3 separate regions of the Homo sapiens genome follow, and regions 1 and 2 are each linked to region 3. The links are contacts of gene promoters, found by promoter capture Hi-C in blood cells and fetal thymus (Javierre and others, 2016). All regions are on one chromosome and are shown on one strand. The core of a region is centred on a gene start or on the middle of the fragment in contact, and the rest is flanking DNA. Distances in the headings are between cores, read along the strand shown. Region 1 holds the start of SFXN4 (sideroflexin 4). Region 2 holds the start of GRK5 (G protein-coupled receptor kinase 5). Region 3 has its middle 23 kb from the start of RGS10.

Region 1 (4,441 bases), core at 1,907-4,406, 400 kb after region 3:
TCCTGAGTAGCTGGGACTACAGGGCGCCCACCACCACGGCTAATTTTTTGAATTTTAGTAGAGACGGGGTTTCACCGTGTTAGCCAGGATGGTCTGGATCTCCTGACCTCGTGATCCACCCGCCTTGGCCTCCCAAAGTGCTGGGATTACCGGCGTGAGCCACCGTGCCCGGCCTAGAGACAGGCAGGCCTTAATGAAACTTTCATCTTTATGTTTTAAAGGAAATCTTTAAAAGTTTAAAGAACTTTAGGTTAAAAATTGGGAGATTGCCACTCACTTTTGGGACTATTATTATGGTAAAGTCACAGTTACCTAATTAAGCTTTTGTATTTTCAGATCAAGCCAAGTCCAGCTGCTTCCAAAGAGTACTTTCAGAAGGTAAATCAGTAGATCACCCATGTGTATCTGCACCTTCTCAACTGAGAGAAGAACCACAGTTGAAACCTGCTTTTATCATTTTCAAGATGGTTATTTGTAGAAGGCAAGGAACCAATTATGCTTGTATTCATAAGTATTACTCTAAATGTTTTGTTTTTGTAATTCTGGCTAAGACCTTTTAAACATGGTTAGTTGCTAGTACAAGGAATCCTTTATTGGTAACATCTTGGTGGCTGGCTAGCTAGTTTCTACAGAACATAATTTGCCTCTATAGAAGGCTATTCTTAGATCATGTCTCAATGGAAACACTCTTCTTTCTTAGCCTTACTTGAATCTTGCCTATAATAAAGTAGAGCAACACACATTGAAAGCTTCTGATCAACGGTCCTGAAATTTTCATCTTGAATGTCTTTGTATTAAACTGAATTTTCTTTTAAGCTAACAAAGATCATAATTTTCAATGATTAGCCGTGTAACTCCTGCAATGAATGTTTATGTGATTGAAGCAAATGTGAATCGTATTATTTTAAAAAGTGGCAGAGTGACTTAACTGATCATGCATGATCCCTCATCCCTGAAATTGAGTTTATGTAGTCATTTTACTTATTTTATTCATTAGCTAACTTTGTCTATGTATATTTCTAGATATTGATTAGTGTAATCGATTATAAAGGATATTTATCAAATCCAGGGATTGCATTTTGAAATTATAATTATTTTCTTTGCTGAAGTATTCATTGTAAAACATACAAAATAAACATATTTTAAAACATTTGCATTTTACCACCAGTAACTGTTGGATCAGCTTATTTTGGGCTCTCCTTTCCTTCTCAGATTATCAACAAACATTTATTGAGCATTTACCTCAGGGGCCACAAAGAGAATAAGATGCTGGTTCCGCACTCAAGGAACTCGGTTTAGGGGCAAGACAGATAGGGAAACATTTTCTCGTTGTTTCAGTAAATCCTTGAGTGCCTACCCCGCACCAGGTGCTGTTTTCCAGGCACAAGAGCGAACAACGGACAAACCCCTGCTTTTAAGCTCTTACATTCTAGAGGGGAAACACCTCATACATGTAGTAAAAGTAGAGTGTTTGGAAGGAAAATAATGTGGAGTGAAACTGCTGAAGCGGAGTTGTAGGTGTTCTAGATGGGGTTGTCAAGGAAGGCCTTAAGGGAGAGCCTCTCTGGATCAATTTTCTCATTGTAAAATGAGGACAATAATTGTACTTATCTCAGGGTTTTGATGAGCATCGAGGGAGAGAAAACGCGTAGAAAGTGAGAGTATTACGGGGATAAGAGACTTCTAGGCAGAGGGCAGGGAAAACACAAAGGCCGTGAGGCAAGAGTGGGCTCAGAGCGGATGCAGATTTACTAGGAGGCCGGTGACTATGGCTGTGGTGGGGGTCCCAGAGTGCCTTTTGGCCAGGCCAAGGACTTTAGGTTCTGTTCTGGGGTGGGGAATGTCAGGAAGGATTTGAAAAGAAGAGTGACATCAACTTGTTCTAAGAGAATCACTCTGGCTCCTTTGTTAAGACGACATAGCAGTCCAAAGTGGGGAAGCAGGCCAGCGGGCTGGCTTTGTGACATCCTGGAGGGTAGAGACAACAGAATAGAACAGCACGCTACATACTGCACTGGTGCTTAGATGGATTTCTGCGGCATAAGGGTAGAAGTGGAGGGGGCACCTTACTCAACTCGGAGGGTCAGGGAAGGCTTCCTGGAAGAGGAGATAAACCCCTGGAGGTTAAGAAAAGTGAGCTAGGCAAACTGAGCAAATACAGAAGCAGAGTCATACAGGCCTGAAGGACGCCATGAGCCAATTTCCTGTTCCTGGAGGCGCAGGGCAAGGGAAGGAATTGGCCCGCTGGAGGTTAATGGCCAATACTGAGCACTTCTGAGGGCTCAGTGCTGTGTTAGGGATGTTTTATCTCCTTTGATCAGAAACAAAACCCTGAGATAGGTACAATTGTTATCCTCATTTTGCGGATGGGAAAATAGACTTCGAGATACTGACTTGGCGAGGGTCACACAACTAGATGATGTGCTGGGTCCCCCAGTCCTGGACTCCGGAGGCCCCCTGAACGACCTAGGCACACTTGTGGCTTCCGTGAATTTAAGTGCACACAGCCCCCGCCTGGCCCTGTGCTGGGGAAGGGCAGGTGGGAGGAGGAAGGGAAGGCAGGTTTTTCTTTACAAATGGTACCTATTTGGTAGTCAACAAAAGGAACTGGATTTGCCCCAACACTGGAAGAAAAAAAAAAACAACCTGTTGGGCTGAGGGATAGTGCACTGTGCCCAGGGCCCTATACTTGGTTTGATGCTCTGGTGTTACTCTCTTGAAATTCTCAGTAACATGAATAAGGGGCACCGCATTTGACATTTTCCCTGGGCTGAGACCATGATGCAGCCGGCCTGACTGCGCAACACCATGCACACTGGAATTCGTGGGCCATCGGAGGGATTTTCGAGGGTAATGACCAGGGGTAGGGCGCGGCAGAAGCGCAGGGTGAGGTTGCGGACGGCCTCACTCACAACCTTTCCGGGTCTTCGCATTAGGTACTGTGATGACGGGTTCCGATAGTGACCCCTTGGGGCCTGGAGACGGCCCGGCTCCCCAAAGGTGCGGAGCAGGGCAAGCAGGGTTGGGAGGACGTGGCCCGTGGGAGAGCTGCGCTCGCCGGAACAGTGGGCGCGCAAGGGCCCCGAGGCGCTGTGACACGGGACGTCGGGCGCGCGGGCCTGGGGCGGGAACTGCGGGTGCGCGCGGCCCGGGGCGGGGCTCGCCGCCCGGCTCCTCCTCCACGCGCGGCCTGGCGGCGGCGGCCACTCTAACCAGCGCAAAATGTCCCTGGAACAGGAGGAGGAAACGCAACCTGGGCGGCTCCTAGGACGCAGAGACGCCGTCCCCGCCTTCATTGAGCCCAACGTGCGCTTCTGGATCACCGAGCGCCAAGTACGGCCCGGGCCCGGCGCGACTAGGGGCAGGGAGGGGGCGGGCCGGGCCGCGTGGAGTCGGGCTGACCCGGGTGACCTTGGCCAGGCCACGTGGGCGCCCCCTGTCTCCGTTTCCTCCTCTCGGAGTTGTGCCGGGAACGCGCACCACCGGCCTTCACCCCTTAGGGCGCGGCAGGGGACGCAGGGGAAATCGAAGCTGCCAGATGCCCACGACCACAACGTCACCCTCCAGATTGCCCTCTCGGAGGGGCCCAGTCCGCGCAGGTGGCTGCTCCCTACTGCCTGAGCTGTGGCTGAGCAGCAGATTGGGGAGAAACAGGCTCTCGCACCTTGGTAAGCTCAGCCACTTTCGGTGAGACCCCCGAGGCTTTGGGAAGCCACCCTTGGGCAGGACATAAGCAGGACTTATCTCCCTGCAGCGTCTAGGGCAGCACCGTCCAATAGAAATATGATGTGAGCCTTACAGGTAATTAAACATTTTCTAGTAGCCACATTAAACAAGATAAAAACAGCTGAAATTTTTAACAATACAGTACATTTAGCCTAGCAGGTGCAAAATATTAACATTTCAACATGTAATCAGTAAAAAACATTGCTGAGATATTTTACTCGCTTTTTTGGTACAGAGTGTTCCAAATCCGGCGTCTGTTACCTTCACAGCACATCTGGGTTCAGCCGCATGTGGCGAATTGGAGAGCAGGGCTTTAGGGGGTTCTCTTTGAGGCCTCTCCTAAAGTGGGGTCCAGCCCTGTTTTTTTTTTAGGTGGGGAAATTGAGAAGGGGCGGTGAGCTCAGGTTGCTCCAGCAGAGCCAAGGCTTAAAGCCAGAACCACTACAAAGTTTAGAGTTTGCTGGAGCAAACCTCTTTTTCCCCAGTGTGACCCCAGCTGCACCATTGAGCCCTTAATGGGGCGTCCATCCTTTGTCACTGGAGTGAAGCCTTATAGCAAGCAGAGAGTGAGGCCACAGACTCTTGAGATATTCTAGGCCATTGCTTCGAGGTCGTATGTGAGATATGAACGTAAGACCATTTGAACCCCCAAAGTCTGGGATTTTAACCCTCAAGGGCAATTTGATACTGAGAGGTTAAGGGCACAGACTTCTGA
Region 2 (4,828 bases), core at 1,663-4,162, 360 kb after region 3:
AACTGAGAAGAGAAACATAAATTGCTTTAATTTCTAAAAGTGTCCACACTAATTAGGATATATGGGCTCAAGTCTCTAATAAAGGCCCAGCCAAAAGAAACTGGAAGCACTTAAAATCATGGCTTTCCTCTAGGCATAAGAGAGAAAGAAGGGGAGAGATGCAAATTGTAAATGAGGTTTCCATTAAATGATTAATTTTTCTTGTTCACGTGTCAGTCTCTCCCTGCTTCCGCAGGCCCTCTCCATTTCCAAGGCATCATCAAGAGCTATTTTCTCACCATGAGATGACGACCAAACTCTCACAGCAAAATTGAAAAAGCCTTTAAAAGGAAAAAAAAAAGTGAAAGGCACATTCTTGAGCACTTTCAATCACTGTAATTCTGCCCCAATGGGAGTCGGTCACTCCACACAAGCTTCCAGCCTGCAGCTCTCTTCTCCAAGGCTCTGGGAAAAAAACCCAATTTGTTGGCCTAACGAACAACAATATCAGACAGTAAATTCACGTTGGTGAAAAAATACTGGGGAGAACAATTTGGAGGGGGCGGGTGGAATTGATATCACTTTGCCCACTCTAAGCAAAGCATTATAAAAGAAGCAACCAAATGCTCAGGGAAGAAAAAAAGCATCTATCAGGCAAACAAATATCTACAGCAGCAAATGTCGGGGGCAGATTCCCTGGGCAACAGGAGGAACCAGCGAAACTTGCAAGGCTCCAGTACCATCAGACCCAGTGATTTCCCAAGAAATAATTTCAGAATGGAGCGAGAGTGAAAACTTTCCCAGCCCCCGAATCCTGAGATACACAACCGTGTCCCACCACTAGGTGGCCAGCTGCAAAGGCTGAAAGAGGGGCGGGGGAGGTGGAGGGCTGTTTTCTCTGCTTCCTCCCTTTCAGGACCATTCCCCAACCCAGAGGAGAGCCTACCAGCACCCACCTAGATCCTGTCCACTAAAAATGTCAGGTTAGGAAAAAAAAAAAAAAAAAAAAAAAAAAACCACACACACACACACAGCTCAGGCCTTAGAACCTGAAGTCACCAAGTAACAAGCCTCTCCTAAAAATTTATTCCCACCAAAGCTAAGCAATGGGAGGGAGACTAACCTGAATATTTTAAACTCTGCTGGGGTTTTCAAAGCACTGCCTCCCTTCGGGGCTTCTGAAATAAACCTTCTTGCCCACTGGCTGCTTTAGAGTGACAAGTGACGACGAAAGTAAGACACGAATGCCGGGTTGAGTTGCTGAAACGCTGCCCACGGAAGGCTATGCATCACCTACCCCCACAGTGTGTAGGGAGCCACAAGGTGATGGAACGGGCTGAATAAACACGAATCGTTTTATTGCTGGCCAGAAATTCTTCCCTTCATTCATCAAAGTAGGTGAATGAAAATATTAAGCAGGTAAGACATTTTCATGGGCTGCTCACCGAGTATCCTTCTAAACTCAAGCCCTTACTCAGTCTGCCTTCTACCTTGTATCAAATAAAGCGTTCTCCCGTGAAAGGGAAAAACCTCTTCCCCTTTTATGAAAAAGGTCGCACACTAGAGCTCAAATCTTGACCAGAAAAAAAAAAGGAAAATATGCGACATAAATTCCAGGTATTCCTAAATACATATGTTTACATGGACACAACACAATCATTTCAGGAAGCACCCAAGTTTCTGCCTCCCCCCCCTTTTTTCTGTTTTTCATCAAAAGGAAGAGTCAAAATATGCGTTCTTAGGGTTTGACTCAGGATCTTACACACTCCATTTAGACAATATTTCCTGCCAGCTAAATGCAGGAAATCTAATGATTTGCATAGAAAACGTATCTAAAGCACCAGCACACTTACCTTTCTTTTCTTAACTGAGCCAAAATCTAACAATTTCAGTTATCACACTCCCAGAAAAGAAAAACCTGAAATACTGAATTATTTTCTAGGTGGTCTGTACAGCCATCCTTTGATAATTCTATGAAAAGGCTAATTCCTCAACATCTGACTTTGCCTTTAAAAGGCTTCCTTCCACACGACGGGATTTCCCTAAGAAACATCCCAGCGGATGGTTTCCAGCAATAGTCTATATCAACTCAGCCTGCGCAGGCAAAGACTTGGCTTCTGCTCATTCCACCCCCGCCCCTCGAACACACACACCAGTTCACACAGAACCATCCCGGGCCGACTTGAAACGCTATTTTATGTGCATGTTTGCTCGTCGCTCCCCGAATGAATGCTTTTCCAACTGACCTTTCAACAGCTGCCGAGATGGCACGCTCTGCAGGGCGAGCGCTGGAAACTAGGAGATATGTTAGCATCCAAATCCCTGCAACCTTCTCAGCCCAAGTCCAGATTCTCTGAGCCCCAAGGCAGGAACCCTGAAGGGTCTGCAGAGCCGCTCTCCGAAGTGTCCTGCTCGCGACCCACTCGCCGGCAGCGGGCATCCTGCACGGGCGCAGCCCCAGCCCGCACGCCACCCGACACCCGCACCCTGGCCCGCGGCGGACGCGCCGGGCACGTACCGGCCCTGCCTCTTACCTTCCCTGGCTTTCAGCAAGACCGTGTTGGCCACGATGTTTTCCAGCTCCATTGACAGTCGGCGGTCAGCAACGGAGCCGGCCGGCGGGGCTGTCAGCGCCTGGGGTGCTGCCGCTGCTGCTGCCGCTGCTCGGGCTGCCGCCGCTGCTGCCGGAGCCGGGGGAGCCAGCAGCCCGCCTTGCCTACCGCATTATTCCTGCTCTCAGCCCAAGAGTTTCCCCCTCTGCAAAGAGGAGCCGCCGCCGCCGCCGCCGCCGCCGCCGCTTCTTCCTCCCTCTGTGTCCCCCCTCCCCCCTCCCTCAACACGCTCCCCCCCACCCCCCACCCTCCGCGTGTCTCTGTCACTCCATTCTCCTCCCCTCCGGCTCCCTCGGATGCTTTAATGCCTCGGATGCTTCTGCCTCCCCTCAGTCCCTCCCGGGGGTGTGGTACTAGCAGGCTCGGGCGGCCGCACTGCGCAAGCGCCGGCCCAGGCGCGCCTCCTGCCTCGGTGCTCGCGGCGCGGGGCCTGCTGGGAGCTGGAGTCCTCCCGGCCGCGCGGCGCCGGGGCTGAGCTGGGCTGGCGCGCGGCTGTCGGAGCGAGGACCCGCCCCGGGACGGCACCGAAAGCGAAGGCGGGCACCGCCCGGCCGACAGGCGACTCAAAGGCGGCCCAGCCAAGCCGAAGTCCCCAGCACCCCCCCGCAGGCTCCCGCTTGCCCCCTTCCCGCCCCGTCGCCAGCCCGGAAAGCGGAGTGCACGGGCCCCGGTGACGGCGCGTGAAGCGCCGCGGCCCGGCAGGAGCCAGTGCGGGTCCCGAGCCGTGCTCGGAGTGGGAGGGCTGCCAGCTCGGCCGCGCGCCACAGCCCGCTTCCTCCGGTCCGCGCCAGGCCCGCGAGGGTCTGAGTCCCGGGTCAGTGACGCGCGCCCAGGGTCCCCGCACGCGGCGGCGGCCGGCCCGGCCTGGCCCCTGCCCAGCGTCTCCCACGCGGCGCCTCGGGCCGCGGACAAAGATGCACTTTGTTTCCTCGGAGGGCGCGAAGGGCTCTGCGGGTCGGCTGCGACCCGGCGCTGGCTGCCCGCGCTGCTCTCGGTGCGACCCGAGCGCCCCCCGCCGGCCGCGGTGCGCGGCGCGGGGTCTACGCGGACGGCGCCTGGGGCTCAGGGTCCAGCGTGGGAAGCTGCTTATTCTGTGAATAAACTGCCTTCCAGCACACCCGGCCAGCAAATCCACGAGCCTCCCTGCAGCCAAACCCAGCCAGATTAAGTAATAAAAACGCAGACGGAGTCGCCGGAGTCTCCGCCGTGGGGAGCGTTAATGAGTAACAGCCAGGCCAGCGCCAAGCCGGCGTGGGATTAACGTTTTTAAATTCCGGTCTTATTTATTTTGGGGCTCTTAGCTCCTTCCAGTGTTATGCTCAGAACATCAGACTCCAGGTCTGTGCTCAGCCCCGTTTCCTTGCTCCCTCCGCTCCGAAGGCCCCACTCCTGGAAATGGGCTGTCTTCGGTCACCCGGGATCTGCCACGAGTGTCCTACAGCTGGGGGCGGGGCAGGCAGGCCCCAAAGAACAATGAGGCCTTTGCCTCCTCTGCATCCTGCGGGCCGGATATCCGTTCAGAAGCCGACTCTGGGCCTTCTCTGTCCAGAAGGAGGAAACCCTCTGTCCCCAGGGCTGCCAGGAAGTCGCAGGGAGGTGCCGAGAGAAACAGAGAACAGTTATTATGCATTGGAGAATATAAAGAAATCAATAAACCTTCCAGGCCTTGGAAACTGGTCTGGTCACTGATTGTAACAACCCAAGATTACCTGCTTTCCTGGGGGAGTATACCCACCACCACCACTTCCTGGTGTCTAGACTTGGGTCAGTGAGTCTCCCAGGGCCTCATTTATCTTGTCTGCAAAATGGGGGCAACAACAGTTTACCTGTCAGAAGGCGGAGGGCTCAGCGGGTAACTTTTCAGGCACTTACCACTCCAGGAATTACTGTTCTAAGCAATCCAGGCTTGGTCTTTGCTACATATTCACGTGCCTAGAGCCCTAACCTTTAATGAAAGGATCTCTCTCAGACAGCGAGACCCCTAAAGCTGGCAGCTCCTAGAGCCCTCCACCAACCACGCTGGTCACTTGCTGGCAGCATAGGGCCTGATGAAGCCCGAAGTTTGTTTATTCGGCTAACATAAAAAAAAAAAGAAAGAAAATTTTTGAATGCCTTTAGATGGCTTATGCACCTTAACAATTTTCTTGGGCCGGGCGCGGTGGCTTACGCCTGTAATCCCAGCACTTTGGGAGGCCGAGGCGGGAGGATCACGAGGTCAGGAGATCGAGACCATCCTG
Region 3 (5,020 bases), core at 595-3,094:
CAAATGGTCCTGTTTTACAATAGTTGCCTTTGAGCATTTTCAGTAAAATGACAGGGATTAGGATGTCCTTTAAAATCCACATTTCTTATACCCAGGGATATATTTTATTTTTTAAAAATGGATAACTTCATTCCTTGGTTGAAGCTCCCCGAAGGCAGGGACTTGGTTTGTTAACTACACAAATTCTAGTACTTGTAACAGTTCTTGGCATGTGGTAGGTGTTCAGTAAATGTTAAATACATTAATATGATAAGAGGAAATGAAAGTAAACATGTATTTTATTTAGTCTCCCTCTTGAAACCAGAACATTACCTCGTGTTCTATTTGAGTAGAACTTGATCAGAATTGGTGGGGTGCTTGTGAAAAGGTAGATTCTGAGACTCTGCAGTTGTGGGTGAAGGTAGTCTGAAATAAAATTAATTGGCCTGGCGGGGCGCCGGTGGCTCACGCCTGAAATCCCAGCACTTACGGAGGCCGAGGCAGGTGGATCACTTGAAGCCAGGAGTTCGATACCTGCCTGGCCAACATGGCACAACCGCATCTCTACTGAAGATACAAAAATTAGCTGAGCATAGTGGTGCATGCCTGTAGTCCCAGCTACTCGGGAGGCTGAGGCACGACAATTGCTTGAACCTGAGAGGCAGAGGTTGCAGTGAGCTGAGATTGTGCCACTGTACTTCAGCCTGAGCAACAGAGCGAGACTCTGTCTCAAAAAATAAATAAATAAATCGGGGCCGAGCGTGGTGGCTCACACCTGTAATTCCAGCACTTTGGGAGGCCGAGGTGGGTGGATCACCTGAGGTCAGGAGTTCGAGACCAGCCTGGCCAACATGGTGAAACCCCGTCTCTACTGAAAATACAAAAAACTAGCCAGGCATGATGGTGTATGCCTGTAATCCCAGCTACTCGGGAGACAGATGGAAGAATTGCTTGAATCTGGGAGGTGGAGTTTGCAGTGAGCTGAGATTGTGTCACTGCACTCCAGCCTGGGCAACAGGGCGAGACTCCGTCTCAAAAAAAAAAAAAAAAAAAAAAAAAAAAAATTGGCTGAGTGTGGTGGCTCATGCCTGTAATCCCAGCACTTTGGGAGGCCAAGGCAAGCAGATCACTTGAGTCCAGGAGTTCAAGACCAGCCTGGCCAAAATGGCGAAACCCTGTCTCTACTAAAAATACAAAAATTAGCTGGACATGGTGGCACATACCTGCAGTCCCAGCTACTCTAGAGGCTGAGGCAGGAGAATTGCCTGAACCTTGGAGTTGGAGGTTTCAATGAGCTGAGATCACACCACTGCACTCCAGCCTGGGTAACAAAGCGAGACTCCCTCTCAAAAATAAATAAAAAAGTAATTAAAATTAAATTAATTGGCCTAGATTTCTTTTTTCTTCCTGGCTTGGGAGATTAAAACTACTAGCCATGGTTACACATTTTTCACAAAAACTAGGTGTTTTTCTTTTTTTCAAAAGTACAGATTTTTTAAAATCTAGGTTTTTTTGTAGTTAATGTTATCCATTACTGCTATGCAATGTAGTTTGCCAAGCATCTTTCAGCAGTGGTCAGGGCTGGCCACAGTGGCTCACACTTGTAATCCAGCACTTTGGGAAACTGAGGTGGGAGGATTGCTTGAGGCCAGGAGTTCAAGGCCAGTCTGGACAATGTAGTGAGACCCTGTCTCAAAAACAAAACAAAAAAAACCCAGGCATGGTGGCATGCCCCTGTGGGTCCCATCTACTTGGGAGGCTGAGGTGGGAAGATTGTTTGAGCTCAGGATTTCAAGGCTGCAGTGAGCCCTGGTTGTGCCACTGCACTCCAGCCTGGACGACAGAGCGAGACCCTGTCTCAAAACAACAAGAACAAAGATGATTAGGATGCACTCCTAATGGGAATGTGCTGGGTGTGTGCCAGGTAGGAACCATAACTACTTCTGCATATCACTCCAAGAATGTGGGTGATCCTGGGCCATGTTTTAGGAAGAGGGGCTGCTAGCACAGCAGAACTGGGTTTCTGGACAGGCAACATCTGAGTATAACAGACAAAAATGGAACTAGCCATGGGAAGTGACACAGTTGAGATTCTTGAAGTGGAAAAAATATATATATATATAGCACAGACATCTGAAGTCAGCTTGTGCTTCAGCATATTTGCTGATAAACTAGTTGGATTAGAAAGAAGTTTCTTAATTGTTTAAGTGAGAATAAGACAAATTATAAAAGACTTGTAGCAATCCTAGGAAAACAGTAGGCAATTTGAGTGTTGACATTTGACTGTTTGATGTTCCCCATGTGAAGGCACAATTAAAGTAGTATGTTATTTAGAATTTGGTTTGCCCTTTTTGGGGGGCTGGAGTGCAGTGGTGTGATTATGGCTCATTACTGCCTTGATATTCTGGGCCCAAGCAATCCTCCCAGTGCAGCCTCCCAAGTAGCTGGGACTACAAATGTGCACCATCGTGCCCAGCTTTTATTTATTTTTTGTAGAGACAGAGTCTCAATATGTTGCCCAGGCTAGTCTTGAACTCCTGGGCTCAAGCAGTCCTCGTGTCTCAGCCTCCCAAAGTGTTGGAAATACAGGTGTAAGCCACCATGCCTGGCCAGTTTGCCCTTGTATCATGAAGGATAAATGTTTCTTGAGTGGCTTATATATTGTTTCTATTTGTTTGTTTGTTTTTTAGACACAGTCTCCCTTTGTTGCCCAGGCTGGACTGCAGTGGTATGCGATCTCGGCTCACTGCAGCCTCCGCCTCCTGGGTTCAAGCGATTCTCCTGCCTCAGCCTCCCAAGTAGCTGGGATTACAGGCACCTGACACCACGCCTGGCTAATTTTTGTATTTTTAGTAGAGATAGGGTTTCACCATATTGGCCAGGCTGGTCTTGAACTCCTGACCTCAAGTGATCCACCCACCTCAGCCTCTTTCAAAGTGTTAGGATTACAGGTGTGAGCCACGGCACCTGGCCGTATATTTTGTATTCCTAATCTGGTTAGGTCTTAAATTAGTACCGGGATTCTATTTGTGCTGTCAAATACGAAAGTTTTAATTTTTAATATACCTGGAAGTTACCTACATTCATTCGCAGCTATATATAGGCTTACTGAAATTTACTCTTTCAAGAAAATGCTTCGTTTTGACATTAGATTTGCTGATGATTGTATTATATTTACTAAAGTGGTTACAAAATGGAAAATTGGAAACGAACAAAAAACATAAATGGATCACTTTATGGTTCTTCTTACCCTAGTCTAAACCAACATCTAACCAGGCATGGTGGCTCACGCCTTTGGGAGGCCAAGGCAGGCAGATCTCTTGAGGTCAGGAGTTCAAGACCAGCCTGGCCGTCATGGTGAAACCCCATCTCTACTAAAAATACAAAAATTAGCCAAGACTGGTGGTGCACACCTGTAATCCCAGCTACTCGGGAGGCTGAGGCAGGAGAATCGCTTGAACTGAGGAGGTGGAAGTTGCAGTGAACCGAGATCATGCCACTTCACTGCAGCCTAGGCAACAGAGCGAGACTCTGTCTCAAAAACAAAACAAAAAAAACCCAATATCTTCCTTCATCCAGACTACTGCAGTATCTTCCCATCTGGCCTCTACCATATATATACTTGAAAAATTAAAATATTACACAGAAAAGTATACGTCATATGTGTACAGCTCTGAATTTTCTTTGCTTTTTTTTTTTTTTTTTGAGACAGAGTCTCACTCTGTTGCCCAGACTGGAGTGCAGTGGTGCTATCTCGGCTCACTGCAACCTTCACCTCCCGGGTTCCAGCAGTTCTCCTGCCTCAGCCTCCCAAGTAGCTGGGACTACAGGTGCACGCTGCCACACCCAGCTAATTTTTTTGTATTTTAGTAGAGATGGGGTTTCACCTTGTTGCTCAGGCAATCCACCTGCCTCAGCCTCCCAAAGTACTGGGATTACAGGCGTGAGCCACCACCCCGGCCTGAATTTTCATAAAGTGAACACACTCATGTGAATGGTAGCCAGATCCAGGAAATATGACCATTGCCATTACCCTGCAAGCCTCATGCTCTGTCCTAGTCTCTAACCTCCACTCTTCCCCAAGATAACCACTCACTGATTTATATGACCACAGATTAGTTTGTCTATTTTGTAACTATATAGATGGAGTTAAGCAGTATATGTTCTTTTGTATCCAGCTTACTTGATACTGTGAGTTTCATTCGCGTGTGTGTGTGTGTGTGTGTGTGTGTGTGTGTGTAGCTGAGTTTTTCAATGATATGGTATGATATTCTATTATGTGAATGTGCTACAATTGATCCATTCTTTTTTTTTTTTTTTTTTTGAGATGCAGTCTTGCTCTTGTTATCCAGGCTGGAGTGCAATGGTGTCATCTCAGCTCACTGCAGCCTCCAGCTCCCAGGTTCGAGCGATTTTCCTGCCTCAGCCTCCCAAGTAGCTGGGATTACAGGTGCCTGCCACTGCACCCAGCAAATTTTTGTATTTTTAGTAGAGATAGGGTTTCACCATCGTGGCCAGGCTGGTCTTGAACTCCTGACCTCGTGATCCACCCACCTCGGCCTCCCGAAGTGCTGGGTTTACAGGCATGAGCCACCGCACCCAGCCATTATTTTCTTAGTAGAGAGGGGGTTTCACTATGTTGGCCAGGCTTGTCTCGAGCTCCGGACCTCAGGTGATCCGCCTGCCTTGGCCTCCCAAAGTCCTGGGATTACAGGTGTGAGCCCATGCCCAGCCTAGGAATTTTTAAAATGTCCTTTGGGGAACATGTGTACACATTTTGTTTAGTGTATACCTAGGAATGGAATTCTGGGTAATAGGAGATGTGTTTGATCAGTTTTAGTAGACGTTGCAGCAGTCTTCCAAAACGATGGATTGGTTTACACTCACATGCAGTACTGAAATGAAAACTCCAGGTGCTTTGCCAGCACTAGATATAATCAGATTTTTTTTTTTTCATTTTTAACTGTTCTTGTATCTTACCTAAGCTTTTAACCTTTTTAGTTTTTGTTGTTGTTGTTTTCGAGATGGAGTCTCGCTCTGT

What was found. The method cuts DNA at HindIII sites, captures the fragments that hold promoters and counts their contacts. A CHiCAGO score of 5 or more calls a contact.
Region 1: a contact is called between the fragment with the promoter of SFXN4 here and a fragment that was not itself captured in region 3, in 13 of 17 cell types (fetal thymus, naive CD8 T cells, endothelial precursors and 10 more). The highest score is 7.9, in fetal thymus.
Region 2: a contact is called between the fragment with the promoter of GRK5 here and a fragment that was not itself captured in region 3, in 5 of 17 cell types (naive CD4 T cells, naive CD8 T cells, non-activated CD4 T cells and 2 more). The highest score is 6.9, in naive CD4 T cells.

What each region holds. Positions count from the first base shown.
Region 1 is chr10:119,164,429-119,168,869 of GRCh38, reverse strand. It overlaps SFXN4 (sideroflexin 4), which reads left to right and starts at 3,156. Exons shown (of 14, transcript NM_213649.2): 1 at 3,156-3,333. The coding sequence starts at 3,223. It overlaps PRDX3 (peroxiredoxin 3), which reads left to right. Exons shown (of 7, transcript NM_006793.5): 7 at 337-1,150. The coding sequence ends at 390. RefSeq lists silencers at 3,008-3,477, 3,519-3,705. The HindIII fragment of the contact is 6,667 bases long and covers 752-4,441 here.
Region 2 is chr10:119,205,655-119,210,482 of GRCh38, reverse strand. It overlaps GRK5 (G protein-coupled receptor kinase 5), which reads right to left and starts at 2,912. Exons shown (of 16, transcript NM_005308.3): 1 at 2,514-2,912. The coding sequence starts at 2,565. GRK5-IT1 (GRK5 intronic transcript 1) reads right to left here and starts at 2,062. Exons shown (of 2, transcript NR_186528.1): 1 at 1,833-2,062. RefSeq lists silencers at 2,486-2,535, 2,586-2,655, 2,866-3,695 and enhancers at 4,036-4,145, 4,166-4,215, 4,326-4,405. The HindIII fragment of the contact is 5,116 bases long and covers 416-4,828 here.
Region 3 is chr10:119,563,441-119,568,460 of GRCh38, reverse strand. No RefSeq gene overlaps it. Among named protein-coding and RNA genes, the nearest start is that of RGS10, 23 kb to the right of the region's middle. The HindIII fragment of the contact is 6,245 bases long and covers 1-4,966 here.